Regions from separate parts of the Homo sapiens genome. Here regions 1, 2 and 4 are each linked to region 3. Evidence: promoter capture Hi-C in human tissues and cell types (Jung and others, 2019). All regions are on one chromosome and are shown on one strand. Each heading gives the region's core, a stretch centred on a gene start or on the middle of the fragment in contact. The rest is flanking DNA. Distances are from core to core; before and after follow the strand shown.

Region 1 (3,619 bases), core at 68-2,567, 190 kb before region 3:
GACCAGCCTGGCCAACATGGTGAAACCCCCATCTCTACTAACAATACAAAAAATTAGCTGGGCGTGGTGGTAGGCCCCTGTAATTCCCAGCTACTTGGGAGGCTGAAGCAAGAGAATCGCTTGAACCCAGGAGGCAGAGGTTGCAGTGAGCCGAGATGGCGCCATTGCACTCCATCCTGGGCAACAAGAGCGAAAATCTATCTCAAAAAAAAAAAAAAAAAATTACAGAATACTCGTCACTTTGATTTCCAGCTAGAGCCGTGACTCTGACTGCTCCCTGAGGAATTAAGTGAGGGTGCTGGGGTGTAACTAGCATTGGATTGGATCCTGGGCTGTCCCGCAGGGATGAGGAGTGCATGCGCACGCAAATCAGCAGGCAATTGGATAGACAAGGCTCCAGGCTACTCTTCCGCAAGAAATCTTCCTGCTTGAAGATATTCATAGGGGATGGCAAAAGGCAGTGTAGCATGGATTTGAGAGTTTGAGAGAAAAACTGTGAGCTGAGCTCTTCTGGCTGAATAGCAGGATCCCTGAAGCACCCTCCTAGTCAGCCTCCCAGTCCAGTGGTTTGAGGGACCAGAAGAGCTCCTGGTTGTGTTTTTTCCCCCAGTGTTCAGAAGGGGGCAGAAGTGCTTTTCTAGCCAGCTCTGAGGAACAGGGCCAGGCAATCCCTCTTTGGCTTGTGTCTCCTTTGGCCTAAAGGGTGAAGAGTGAAAGGAGAGAGCAGTAAAGGAGGCTTGCTCAGAACCCGGGGTGTGGGGGGCAGGCGTGCCTCAGGGCTTGCTTTATGGTATAAGCTTTGTCTGCTTCAGGGACTTTTAGGAGCTGGGGATCCTGGGCCCAGCCATAACCAGACAGATTTCTGAGCCCCATTATCCCATCCCCTCTGTCTGGACGGTAGAGCAGTCTGAATGTTCCTCACTAGGAATCCACGGCAAGACAGTTATTCATTCATTCAACAAATATTTATTGAATGCCCGCTGTGGGTTAGTCACCGGAGCGGCAACAGTGAGTAAATAGGACTATCTCTGTCCCCAAGAATCTTACAACACAGTCTCTCCCTCCAGCATCTGGTTTTGTAGCCTGGATGTGTCTGCTAGTAGCCGAATGGTGGTCACAGGAGACAACGTGGGGAACGTGATCCTGCTGAACATGGACGGCAAAGAGGTGCGTTCTCCGAGGTCCTGCCTTTCCCTCCCTCACCCCCACCTCGGTTCTGTGTCCCCACCTGAACCGAGCTCTTCTCTGCAGCTTTGGAATCTCAGAATGCACAAAAAGAAAGTGACGCATGTGGCCCTGAACCCATGCTGTGATTGGTTCCTGGCCACAGCCTCCGTAGATCAAACAGTGAAAATTTGGGACCTGCGCCAGGTTAGAGGGAAAGCCAGCTTCCTCTACTCGCTGCCGCACAGGCATCCTGTCAACGCAGGTGTGATATCCCAGACCTCATCTCTCCTGCAGACCCTGCCTGTCTGACCACTGCTGGGGTTTTCCCTCAGTGTGGAAGCCACTACGTCAAACCTTTACCCCTGATAGCGTCTGCCAAGCTGATGTCTGGGAACCTTTGTGGCTGTGGCTGTCCCCATCAGCTGCTGAGTTTCCAGAATTTTTTTGTTGTTGTTCACAGCCCAGATTCACCTCTTCCTTTCCGCTCCTGTCTAGAGAGGAGTGGGAGGGAGAGTACCCCTGCAGGAGAAGGCCTGCAAGGCCAGGACCACAGAGGGCTTGTGGTTCCTTCAGCTCAGGGGCTTTTCACTTTGCCAGCTTGTTTCAGTCCCGATGGAGCCCGGCTCCTGACCACGGACCAGAAGAGCGAGATCCGAGTTTACTCTGCTTCCCAGTGGGACTGCCCCCTGGGCCTGATCCCGCACCCTCACCGTCACTTCCAGCACCTCACACCCATCAAGGTGAGTGGCGGTGGGAAGGAGCTCGCAGAAGGAGGCTGTGATCATGAGGCCGGAGCAGGTCTGCCCACAGTGGGGAAGGGCTGATGTGGTAAGCCTGCCACCCCAGATCGCTCCTGGCCCGAGCACAGAGCATCTCTTACCCATTGGCTCTCTCTCTTCCTTTTATCCCACTTCTGCCATCCCATATGGTTGAGTTTTCTGTCTCGCTGATAAGATATTTTTCTGAGTTTTTTCAGCCCAGCTCTGATCTCACTGTGAGAATTTTCTAAGATCCTGACCCTCTGTTCTGTCTTCTCAGCTTCAGTTACCTGTGTACAGTTGACCCACAAACCTTCATTTTTTATTTTTTTATTATTTTTTTTAAGGCAGGGTCTCGCTCTGTCACCCAGGTGGGAGTACAGTGGGGCAAGCATGGTTCATTACAGCCTTGATCTCCCAGGCTCAAGCGATCCTCCTGCCTCACTTTTTTTTTTTTTGTAGAGACAGGGTATTCTTGTGTTACCCAGGCTGATCCTTTTTTTTTTTTTTTTTTTTTTTCTTGAAACGGTCTTGCTCTGTCACCCAGGCTGGAGTGCAGTGGCACAAACATAGCTCACTGCAGCCTCAACCTCCTGGGTTCAAGCAATCCTTCCGCCTTAGCCTCGGAAGTAGATTGGACTACAGGTATGCGCCACCATACCCAGCTAATTTTTTTATTTTTTATAGAGATGGGGTTTTGCCATGTTGCCCAAGCTGGTCTTGAACTCCTAGGTTGAAGCCATCCCCCAACCTTGGCCTCCCAAAGTGCTAGGATTACAGGCATGAGCCACTGCGCCTGGCAACTTTGCCTTCTTAGTTTGTCTTGCAGGTTTCAGTGCTTCTAATAATAAAAATAAGTCTTTTATTTTCCCACCTTTTCTCAGGCTCTTGTTAATAGCTTCTCTATCATTAGTCCCCAACACTAATAGCTTTCAAGTCCTTTGATGCCTTTTTGCCTAAGCCCCCATGCAGACTGAGCTCTGCTAGTTCTGCATTCTTTTCCAAAACTACAGATCCTCTTCAGATCTTCAGGTTTTATGCCTATACTTCTCTGGTCAGTTCAGAATAGTGGTGGGGAGCGCCAGTTTCCAGCAGCCAGACCCCCCGGGTTAGAATCCTTGGGCAAATTACTTATATTTTGGATCTGTTTCCTCATCTGCAAAAAGGGAATACTAGTCTCTAACTGATAGGGTTGTTGTGAAGATGAGTCAGTATACTTAAAGCACTTGGCCCCATGCCCAGCACCTGGTAAGTACTGGTAAGTATTCAATAAATGATGATTGAATATTGAGTGGCCCCCACGTACCTCAATCACATCCAAGCTCTTAATAAATAATGTCAAGAATCCTTCCCCAGTTGGTGTTCCTGTTAATCCATCAGTGTTCCCGATAATCCATCTGTCTGCATGTCCCAGTTTGTATCTAGCCAGGTGTCGTAAGTCATTACAGCTTCCTGTGTGTGATTTGTGACTTATTTCTAAGCCTTCGCATGTACTATTTCTTCCTTCCTGCTAACCATGTCTTTCTTCCTTCAAAACTTCCTTGAGAAGTTTAGGAAAATCCCATCCAATTCTGCCATTTTAATAACTGCCAGATTTGTTTTTAGTGGGGTGATCTGGGGAATGTGGGTTTCCTTCTCTTTTTTAGCCATTAGCAATTTTACACTCAGCTCTTAGTTATTCGTGTTGATGGAGA
Region 2 (3,587 bases), core at 561-3,060, 170 kb before region 3:
CAGTGTTCTCTGTCAAATGGAGCTCGGGTTACTTACCCTCCTTTCCTCCCAGCGCTGCTCTAAGGACCAGAAAAGATAGTGAAGGGTTTGTGCTGTGTATGGAAACAAGTACAAAGTTCAAAATCCACCAAGTTAAAGCAATGGGAAGACCTACAGCTGAAAGAACTGGGAGGGTGATGATAACTCGTGCCATTTCTCAAACACTATGTGCCACACGTTGTGATAGACTCTCTTTCTTTCTTTCTTTTTCTTTCTTTCTTTCTTTCTTTCTTTCTTTCTTTCTTTCTTTCTTTCTTTCTTTCTCTCTCTCTCTCTCTCTCTCTTTCTTTCTTTCTTTCTTTCTTTCTTTCTTTCTCTTTCTCTCTCTCTCTCTCTTTCTTTCTTCTTTTTTTTTGGAGTTTTGCTGTTGTTGCCCGGGCTGGAGGGCAATGGCGCGATCTCGGGTCATTGCAACTTCTGCCTGCCAGGTTCAAGTGATTCTCCTGCCTCAGCCTCCTGAGTAGCTGGGATTACAGGAATGCATCATCACACCCGGCTAATTTTTTGTATTTTTAGTAGTGATGGGGTTTCACCATGTTGGCCAGGCTGGTCTGGAACTCCTGACCTCAAGTGATCCATCTGCCTTGGCCTCCCAAACTGCTGGGATTACAGGCATGAGCCACCGCACCCTGCATGATCTGTAGTTTCAATCCCACAACAACCTTGTGTGGTAAAAATTACTATTATCCCTATTTTATTTATCTTTCTTTCTTTTTCTTTTTTTTATTTTGAGATGGAGTCTCAGTCTGTCACCCAGGCTGGAGTGTGGTGGCACAATCTCGGCTCACTGCAACCTCCCAGATTCAAGTGATTCTCCTCCCTCAGCCTCCCGAGTAGCTGGGATTACAGACCCGCATCACTATGCCTGGCTAACTTTTGTATTTTTAGTAGAGACGGGGTTTCACCATGTTGGCCAGGCTGGTCTCGAACTCCTGACCTCAAGTGATCCACCCGCCTAGGCCTCCCAAAGTGCTGGGATTACAGGCGTGAGCCACCGTGCCCGTTCTATTTATTTTTCAACACACCATTGCTGGCTCAACTATTCTTATTTTAAAGATAGGGAAACAAAGATTCAGAGACGTTAAGTAACTTGCTCAATCAAGATCACATAGGTAATAAGAGGTTTAGGATTTGAACCCAAAATCTGAGCCCAGAGTCTGAACGCTAAATCAACATGCTGAGTTGAAATTGACTACAGCAGTTGTGATGGCGTGTGCCTGTAATCCTAGCACTTTGGAAGGCTGAGGTGGGAGGATGGCTTGAGCCCAGGAGTGTGAAGCCAGCCTGGGCAACATAGTGAGACCCTACCCCAAAAAAGGTAAAAAAAAAAAAAAAAAGGAATAATAAAAAAAATTGACTAGGGCTAATAAGTACGGGATAGACGAGAATAATATTTCTTTTTTTTTTTTTTTTGGGGACAGAGTCTCGCTCTGTCACTCAGGCAGGAGTGCAGTGGCGCAATCTCGGCTCACTGCAAGCTCTGCCTCCCGGGTTCACGCCATTCTTCTGTCTCAGCCTCCCGAGTAGCTGGAACTACAGGCGCCTGCCACCATGCCCGGCTAATTTTTTGTATTTTTAGGAGAGACGGGGTTTCACCGTGTTAGCCAGGATGGTCTCGATCTCCTGACCTCGTGATCCGCCTGCCTCGGCCTCCCAAAGTGCTGGGATTACAGGCGTGAGCCACCGCGCCCGGCCGAGAATATATTATATTTTTCTTGTTATTCATTCAACAAATAGGAACACAGTACCTACTCTGTTGCCACATCTATGCCAGCCCTGTTTCAGGGGTGTTGGGGGAGATGAAATCAATAAAATATGATGTCTACTTTCAGGGATGGATTTCATGCCCCAGGCAGCAGAGTAGGAAGAATGACTATAGTCTCAGTAGCTGCTGGTTGGAGCCTGCCATCACTTCAGATGGGGTTGTTCCCCAGAAGAGGCAACCCGCATACCTTCCCAGGTCCATCCTGGGCTGCCACCTGAGTTGCCTGTCTTCCTTCTGCCACCTCCACCCCTATCCCAGGCCTGCCACTGCTCATAGCAGATTTCCTATCAAAGGCTCTCCTGGCCTCCTCTCTTATCTGTGGCCCCCGCAGGGCACCCACTTTCAGAAACTCCCTGGAAGGCCCAGCACCTGCCTCTCTCCACCCCTGGATTTCTACCAGCTTGGCTGAGGCCTGGGGCTAGTGGGGAGAGCTTCTTGGCCTCTTCCCAGAGGCAAGGGAGGAGGAGGGAGGCTGGGAAAGCCGCTGGGGCTCAGTGTCGCAATTCCGGGCCGTGCTGGGACCTTTGCTCCACGAGGTGCCTATGGAGGGGAGGGAACACGATTCTGGAGGCTGCTGGGATTGGGGTGGGGGTTCCTGGGAGGCAGTCCTTTTGCAAGAGCTGCTAAGAGCGCTGGGTAAGGAGAGGAAGGGGAGAGACATGGAACTTGGCTGGTCTGCAGGGAAATGCCACTGTTTTGGCCGGGAGTAGGGGGCGGGAGTGGCGGGAGAGGGGGTGGCCGGCTGGGGAGGAGCCAGCCTGGTGGAGAAGCTGCCCTGTGGGCGGGGGTGAGGAGGGGAGGGCTGTGGTCACCAGGCAGGAAGGAGGGGTGGCCTGACCCCTCGGCAGTCCCTCCCCTCAGCCTTTCCCCAAATTGCTACTTCTCTGGGGCTCCAGGTCCTGCTTGTGCTCAGCTCCAGCTCACTGGCTGGCCACCGAGACTTCTGGACAGGAAACTGCACCATCCTCTTCTCCCAGCAAGGGGGCTCCAGAGACTGCCCACCCAGGAAGTCTGGTGGCCTGGGGATTTGGTGGGTCTGCTCCTTAGCAGTGGCCTGGGGCTCTGTGTGTGTATCTGGGGTGGGGTCGGGGAATGTCCTAAGGATCTGAGAAGGGGGTTTCTGGGGAGAAGTGAGGGGTGATGGTGATGGAAGCTTGGGACAGGAGCAGGACTCTGGGTCCCAGAATAACTCATGAGGGGCTCAGGGGAGGAGGTCCTCTATGTGAATTGGGGAGATTCTTGGAGACAGGTTTGTGCTGGGACCCTGGAAAGTGGCACGAGCGAGGTTCTCTAATAAGCAGCGTGTTTCACTGGGTGGAGTGAGCTGTCCTCAGTGTTGGAGTGAGGGGGAAGGGGCCCAAGAGAAGCAGGGCAGATGCACCCAAACATTCCCTGCTGGCCTGGAGGGGACTTTGGGGGAGAAAAGCCGGCACGGTGGCTGGGAGCCCAGACTTTGGAGTCAGAGGAGGGTTGGAGTCTTGACTCTACCGCCGCCTAACTGTGTGACCATAGTTACTTAATCTCTTTGAACCTCAGTTTGCTTATCTGTAAAATGAGTTTAAGAATAGTCCTGAGCCAGGAGCAGTAGCGTGCGCCCATAATCTCAGATACTCAGGAAGCTGAAACCTGATTGCTTCAGCCCAGTAGTTTGAGGCGATAGTGTCCTATTATTGCACCTGTGAATAGCACTGAGTTCCAGCCTGGGCAACATAGAGAGACCCCATCTCAAAAAAAAAATTAATAGTTTTGACCTCAGAGGGATATTATGAGGAAAGCACATAAA
Region 3 (3,582 bases), core at 1,019-3,518:
CTTTGTTCACACCCTAAGGACACAGCACAGGGCCTTCAGATTTGGCCCAGCTCAAGGGCTACCCAACTGACTGGGTGACAGGTGTCTGCAGAGGGAAAGACACAGGACTGGGCAATACAAGAATCAAACAGCAAGTAGACAGAATCCCAGACTCTCGGAGCTGTTCTGCCAAGATTCAGAGCCAACAGTGACCTGGGGCGGGTACAGGGGCTCAGCTAGTCACCAGAAAAGCACTGCCTGGGCTCAGGCCCCACTCACCACCAGGTCTCCTGGCTTTAGCTTTTCAGCATCCACCAACCCAATCACAGGAAGGAAGTACGTCTGTGGACAAGTTACAGGGGCAGTCTCAGTTAGTGTCCTCAGGGAAGGCTCCCTAGTCCTGTCCCACATCCGCTCCTCACCCTCCTCCAGTCTCTCATTGCTGAGCCACGCTCACCTGTCGTGTAGAGGTTTTGATCACAGCACACTTGCCCTTCCTCTGGGAGTCCAGGTCAATATTGGCACCATCCTCCTCTTGGTCATTAGGATCAACATCCAGGAGCTGGGAAGGAAAAAATACTCAGCTCCTTGAACTCCCCAAGGCCCAGTGCTTCCTAAGACAGTTCCTAATACCTGCAGGGCTGGCCATCCTTACCTCCCTCCTCCAATAGCCCTGAGCCCACCAAACGTGGGTGCCCCTGCTAAGCCCAGGGATTGATCTCTGTGTAGGTGCTGCTCCTCTGCACAGGGCTCATCTACCCCGGAGGAGACATAACCAACAGAAAAGGAGACACGTGAGACCTCCCAGGACTTTGCAGGCCCCGTCTTCCCCATGAAAGTGCCCCAGGAGGTGTAGCTCTGACATGCAGTTTGGCCTCAATACCTCCACCCACTCTTTCCCTAGTGGCCCCACCCCAGGCTGTCCCCATTCCCTGCTGACTCCCTCTCTTCCCCTCCACATACACACACACCTCGATGACGTTGGAGACAAGGTACGGCAGGGTCTTGTTCACTTTGATTTTCTCACTGTTCTCTTTTATCTTGTCCTTCATGGCTTGGAGCTCATGGGTGACTCTCAACACTTCACTCTTCATGATCTGAGATCAGGAGGGGAGGAGAAGCAAATATAAACCCTGGCACAGCTTATGCTAGAGCCCTGTAACTAGTGAGGTCCAGGGTGCCCAGGGGACCCTCCCGCATCCATTCATCCAGCTCTGAGGCTCTCTGAAGGCAGAGTCTGACTGTGTCCACATCCTGCAGAAGTCAAAAGAGGAGGCCAGTTTGGAAACCTCCTGGTGAAATAGTGGTAGTATTGGAATAAAAGCAGGCCTCCGAGAGAGGCAAACATAGGTTTTAGGTTCTGCCTCATAGTAAGAACTGGGTGCTTTATCGCAGTACAAACCTCTCTGGGCCTGTCTCCTCATCTGTAAAATAGGCATTTTACTAAAAGAAGGATTCTTGAGAGGATTATTCCCAGTTCTCACTGGGAAAGGCAATCTGATAACTTCTCATCTCAGCCCAGGCCTCCCACCACCCCCTACCTGTCTTCTTGTCCCTTTTAAGGCTTAGTTTTCTTTCCTCTCTTCCTGATATGAGGGGGAAGCCCGAGCCCCATGTCTCCCCCAGGGTGCCCGATTAGGAAGTACGAGAGGCGACTCGGATCGCCGGGGCCTGTCCTGTGGGGGCTCCATCGCCCGCACAGGAGCTGTGCGCCCACCTTGATCTCACTGTCCAGCAGCCGTGTGCGCTGGATGATCTCCTCCGTGGACATCTTGAGCACCTCCTCCCCAATTCCATCTTGCTGTAAAAAATTATTTGTTTATTTATATATTTACTTTTACTCAGGACAAGCATCCCTCGTTCTCCGAACCCACTCACAGCCTCAGTTTCCACGCCCATAAAACCAGGATGGAGTCAGGACCCCTGCCCACATCCCAAACAACCCCGTCCCCGGGATCGGGCCAGACCTTGACCCCCAGCCACCTCCTTCCCTCTTGTCAATGGCGTCTCCCTGCGGGCCCCGGTTCCCGGACCGCCAGCTCGCCCGGTGCCCACCTCGGCCTCATCCCACACGGTCGCCATCTTCTCCTGCCGAGTCACTGGACTCTCAATATTCGGCAGCAGATTCATTTCCTGGAGGAGCGGGCAGAAGATGGGACCAGGCGGGAGCCGCAACGGGAGATTAATACCGTCTTTCTTAAAGCCTTCTCTTGACCAGTGGAAAACCTCTCCCCACAAATCCCGACTCTTGACCCGACCAGCTCCGGCCGTGCTGCGGAGCAGCGAATCTGCCTCTCCGATTCCAAAGACCAACCCCTGGCCACAGGCCCCGCCCCCGCGGACCCCGAAACGTTCCCGCCCGCGTCCTATTTTTGCCGGGCGCGAGAGGTGGGGCCGCTATTGGCCGACACGCGCGTTGGGGGCGGGGCCTATGTGTAAAACCGGAAAGGGAGGGAGAAGGGTGGGATCCGCGAGGGCCTTTGGGAAATGTAGTCTTTAATCTGGCCCGTGACAGATGCTTGCGGAGGGGCGCGTTCAAACTCAGACCGTGACCCCGCTAGGAATAAGGGGATTTACACAATGACACTGCCTCCCAATTAATAAACGACATAGGCCAGCCGTGTGCAAAGGGCCAAAAAGGCATGCCACCTCAGTCCGCATTTTTACAATTATTTAAGTACAAGCTGGCCACCCGGAGTTACGGGAGGGAATCATTAACCAGCTTTAAAGAGAAATCGCTGCTGCTCCTAACGTCAGAGCAGGCTTCACGGAATTGTCCACGTGGGAAGAACTCAATTGACCATCAGCCTCTACGATTAAAAACATTATGACTCGGGCCGGGCGCGGTGGCTCACGCCTGTAATCCCAGCACTTTGGGAGGCCGAGGCGGGCGGATCACGAGGTCAGGAGATCGAGACCATCCTGGCTAACACGGTGAAACCCCGTCTCTACTAAATATACAAAAAATTAGCCGGGCGTGGTGGTGGGCGCCCGTAGTCCCAGCTACTCCGGGCTGAGCCAGGAGAATGGCATGAACCTCGGAGGCGGAGCTTGCAGTGAGCCGTGATCGCGCCACTGCACTCCAGCCTGGGCGACAGAGCGAGACTCCGTCTCAAAAAAAATTATGTCTCGTATCTGCAATTGTTTGTTTTCTCTGACCATGGTTAGTAATCTCAGTGAGCAGAGCGGGTCTCCGGATCATGGGAGACTCATTCGTTGTACCCTTGTCGGCTATTTTAAATGATCTCTCCTTATCCTTTGAGGTGAGCCCTGGAGCCCCTTTAAAGGGAACTTCATGTAAGCAACATAGCTTATATTTCAAGTCAAACCATCACAAACACTCTGTTAACCTGATGAAAATCTGTGCAATCGTTGCCTTTTTTTTGTTTGCTTGTTTGTTTTTTGTTTTTTGAGACGGAGTCTCGCTCTGTCGCCCAGGCTGGAATGCAGTGGCGCGGTCTCTCCCTACCGCAACCTCCGCCTCCCGGGTTCAATGGATTCTCCTGCCTCAGCCTCTCAAGTAGCTGGGATTACAGGCACCCACCACCACGCCCAACTAATTTTTGTATTTTTAGTAGAGACAAGGTTTCACCATGTTGACCA
Region 4 (3,174 bases), core at 580-3,079, 190 kb after region 3:
TTTTTTTTTTTTTTTGGCTCTCAGTTGACACCTAGGCTGGAGTGCAGTGGTGCGACCATAGGTCAGTACAGCCTCAACCTCCCAGGACTCAACCAGTCGTCCCACTTCAGCCTCCTGTGTAGCTGGCACTACAGGTGCACACCACCAAGCCTGGCTAATTTTTAAATTTTTGTGTTGAGAAAAGGTCTCACTATATTATCCAAGCAGGCTGTTTTAGTTGGCCTGTTTTAAAGGACTAAATATATATTTTTCCCCCACAGATTTTCAAATCAGAGAGAAGTAATGCTCCTGCTGTATAAAACATGAACTTGGTGTTGGATGTAGTTTTTGTCAGTTAGTTTGTACTATCATTACATGCTCTGAAGGAGGGAGAGTTTGAAGGCACAGCCCTCTCACCCAGTTGGGACTCTCAGTGACTTCACAAAGAGATGGCACTAGAACTGAATCTGACAGTACAGAAACATGTCACTGGCAAGAGGGGGAGGACATTTCTAGAATAGGAAATTATAGTTAAGTCAAGGTATGCTGAGGTAACAGAGATGATGGAATATAGGGCTTATGTTGAATGTTTCTTTCATCCTAAGGTTGCTTTTTTTTTTTTTTGAGACAGAGTTTCACTCTTGTTGACCAGGCGGGAGTGCAGTGGGGCAATCTCAGCTCACTGCAACCTCCACCTTCCGATTTCAAGCGATTCTCCTGCCTCAGCCTCCTGAGTAGCTGGGATTACAGGTGCCCGCCACCACGCCTAATTTTTGTATTAGTAGAGACAGGGTTTCACCATGTTGGTCAGGCTGGTCTCAAATTCCTGACCTCATGATCCACCCGCCTCGGCCTCCCAAATTGCTGGGATTACTAAGGTTGCTTTTTTACCCTAGTATTTTTATAATGATCCCCCAAAGTTCCAGGAAACCCATACCTTCTTTATTTTTAAGATGCAGTTTCACTCTTGTTGCCTAGGCTGGAGTGCAATGGCACGATCTCAGCTTACCGCAACCTCCGCTTCCTGGGTTCAAGCGATTCTCATGCCTCAGCCTCCCAAGTAGCTGGGATTACAGGCATGTGCCACCACGCCCAGCTAATTTTCCTCCCTTTATTTCTTTAAAAAATAGAGACAGGGTTTTACCATGTTGCCCGGGCTGGTCTTGAGCTCCTGGACTCAAGTGATCCACTGCCCCCAGCCCACCCCACACTCTTCTTAAGTCAAGGTTTCAATGGTCACCACATACTCTAGAGGAACAGTTTGTGGCAACTTAGCTTGGTACCACAAAGGAAAACCAGTTTCACAAGTGGCTTACTAGAGAACCCCTACTTTTCTTTTTCTTTTTTTTAAGAGACAGAGTCTCACTCTGTCACCCAGTGGCACAATCTTGGGTCACTGCAACCTCCAGCTCCCAGGTTCAAGCGATTCTCCTGCCTCAGCCTCCTGAACTACAGGTGCGTGCCACCATGCCCGACTAATTTTTTTGTATTTTTAGTAGATATATTGGCCAGGCTGGTCTCCAACTCTTGGCCTCAAGTGATCCACCTGCCTCAGCCTCCCAAAGTGTTAGGATTACAGGTATGGGCCACCACAACCAGCCTAAGTTCATATTACTTACTGAGTTCATTATTTCTTGCATGTGTTTCTTTTTTTTTCTTTTTTTTTTTTTTAAGAGATGGGAGTTTCACTCTTGTTGCCCAGGCTGGAGTGCAATGGCGTGATCTCAGTTCATTGCAACCTCCACCTCCTGGGTTTCAAGAGATTCTCCTGCCTCAGCCTCCCGCATAGCTGGGATTACAGGCATGTGCCACCATGCCCGGCTAATTTTGTTATTTTTAGTAGAGACAGGGTTTCTTCATGTTGGTCAGGATGGTCTCGAATTCTCGACCTCAGGTGAACCACCTGCCTCGGCCTCCCAAAGTGCTGTGATTGCAGGCATGAGCCATTGCGCCCGGTCGCATGTGTTTCTTAATGGCACCTACCTGCATTTCCTAGCCCCTGAATATCTTTAGACTTTTATGTTAGTAGCTTATAGTAAGATATTATGGAGGATCATAGGTATAGGACTCTGACTAGACCTCTAGCTTGGATGCAGCAAGACTGAAACAGCTGGACTAGTATTTTGAGCAATCCTAGGCCTTGGAGAAATTTCTCAGCCACCCAACTTGCACAGGAAAAACTGAAGCCTTGGCGTCCTCTGGTGGTAGACTGGTTATCAGAGTCAGACATGCTTCTCAACTAGGAATAGGCAAGCATGAAAGTTCACAGAAGCCACAGGATAAACATGGCACATTTTCCCAGATCATCTTTACTTAAAGATTTTTTGGGAGAAAAAGGTAGGCAGCAAACATTTTTATATTAAAACAAATGCAGATAGTAATATTGAAATAGTATATAAAATTGACATTACTTTTTGAGACAAAGGAAGAGACATCAAAGACATTTTAAGCCGAGCTCCTCATGAGCTTCCTAAACCCCAGGGGAGGGAAGAGACCCCTGCATTCTCGTTCTGTCTAATATTATCAGTGGGGCTGTTTTGACAGAGAAGTCTCAGAAGCAGCGAATTAAGTGCTTACTCATTTGGCAATGTCCCAGTGAGTTATATAAATAAGTGAAACCACAGGCTTTCTCATTTTAGAGCATTTTAACCTGCTTTTTAGAAGGCCTGAGTAAACAGAAGCTTTATGCTTGAGTTGAATTTTATTTTCTCCCAAAGTGATTTTTTTCCTCCTATAAATGTTAACATGCTTAACTGAGGGTATGGCATGTGAGGTGGTCAGTGTCCTAAGACCCATGTCGACTTGGGTTGGCATTACCAGACATGGAGTTACAAATATACTTTCCAAGGCTGTCATCAGAAATGCAAAACTACTCACCTTCGGCAACAATAACAAAAAGGAAACAAAACAAAAAACTGAAGAACAAAAGATTATATATAATTAGAACTGTATGGTGTAATTTAAGCACTGGCAAATACTTGGCTCTTAAAGAAGGGGGTTACTCCTGCAGGATCTGCTTTTCATATTTTATGTGAAAACAAGAACTTCCTTTGAGGAAAAAAGTGCCATTATACTTCCTTTCCAAATCTTGCTTATTTTCTGTAATTGTCTTTTTCTTTGTTGTTGCTGACCCTTTATCTTATTTATTTTTTTTCAGGTAGCCTCTTGAACTAGAGTAGGCTCAGAGGCTCCCTG

What was found. Contacts are between HindIII fragments. The study calls those that stand out against the background at their distance.
Region 1: a contact is called between a fragment that was not itself captured here and the fragment with the promoter of PSMC3 in region 3, in 2 of the 25 tissues and cell types used here (dorsolateral prefrontal cortex and lymphoblastoid cells).
Region 2: a contact is called between a fragment that was not itself captured here and the fragment with the promoter of PSMC3 in region 3, in 1 of the 25 tissues and cell types used here (mesenchymal stem cells).
Region 4: a fragment that was not itself captured here is called in contact with the fragment with the promoter of PSMC3 in region 3 in 1 of the 25 tissues and cell types used here (lymphoblastoid cells).

The regions. Positions count from the first base shown.
Region 1 is chr11:47,233,506-47,237,124 of GRCh38, forward strand. DDB2 (damage specific DNA binding protein 2) reads left to right here. Exons shown (of 10, transcript NM_000107.3): 5 at 1,068-1,167; 6 at 1,252-1,429; 7 at 1,765-1,907. Among named protein-coding and RNA genes, the nearest start is that of ACP2, 13 kb to the right of the region's middle. The HindIII fragment of the contact is 6,251 bases long and covers 1-3,619 here.
Region 2 is chr11:47,255,296-47,258,882 of GRCh38, forward strand. NR1H3 (nuclear receptor subfamily 1 group H member 3) reads left to right here and starts at 2,701. Exons shown (of 10, transcript NM_005693.4): 1 at 2,701-2,834. The HindIII fragment of the contact is 3,305 bases long and covers 159-3,463 here.
Region 3 is chr11:47,424,171-47,427,752 of GRCh38, forward strand. PSMC3 (proteasome 26S subunit, ATPase 3) reads right to left here and starts at 2,269. Exons shown (of 12, transcript NM_002804.5): 1 at 2,035-2,269; 2 at 1,697-1,780; 3 at 951-1,076; 4 at 437-541; 5 at 259-321; 6 at 1-13. The coding sequence starts at 2,109. RefSeq lists silencers at 1,896-2,107, 2,378-2,507 and an enhancer at 2,078-2,277. The HindIII fragment of the contact is 16,812 bases long and covers 1-3,582 here.
Region 4 is chr11:47,615,047-47,618,220 of GRCh38, forward strand. MTCH2 (mitochondrial carrier 2) reads right to left here. Exons shown (of 13, transcript NM_014342.4): 13 at 2,271-3,174. Among named protein-coding and RNA genes, the nearest start is that of C1QTNF4, 22 kb to the left of the region's middle. RefSeq lists a silencer at 2,507-2,566. The HindIII fragment of the contact is 5,124 bases long and covers 1-3,174 here.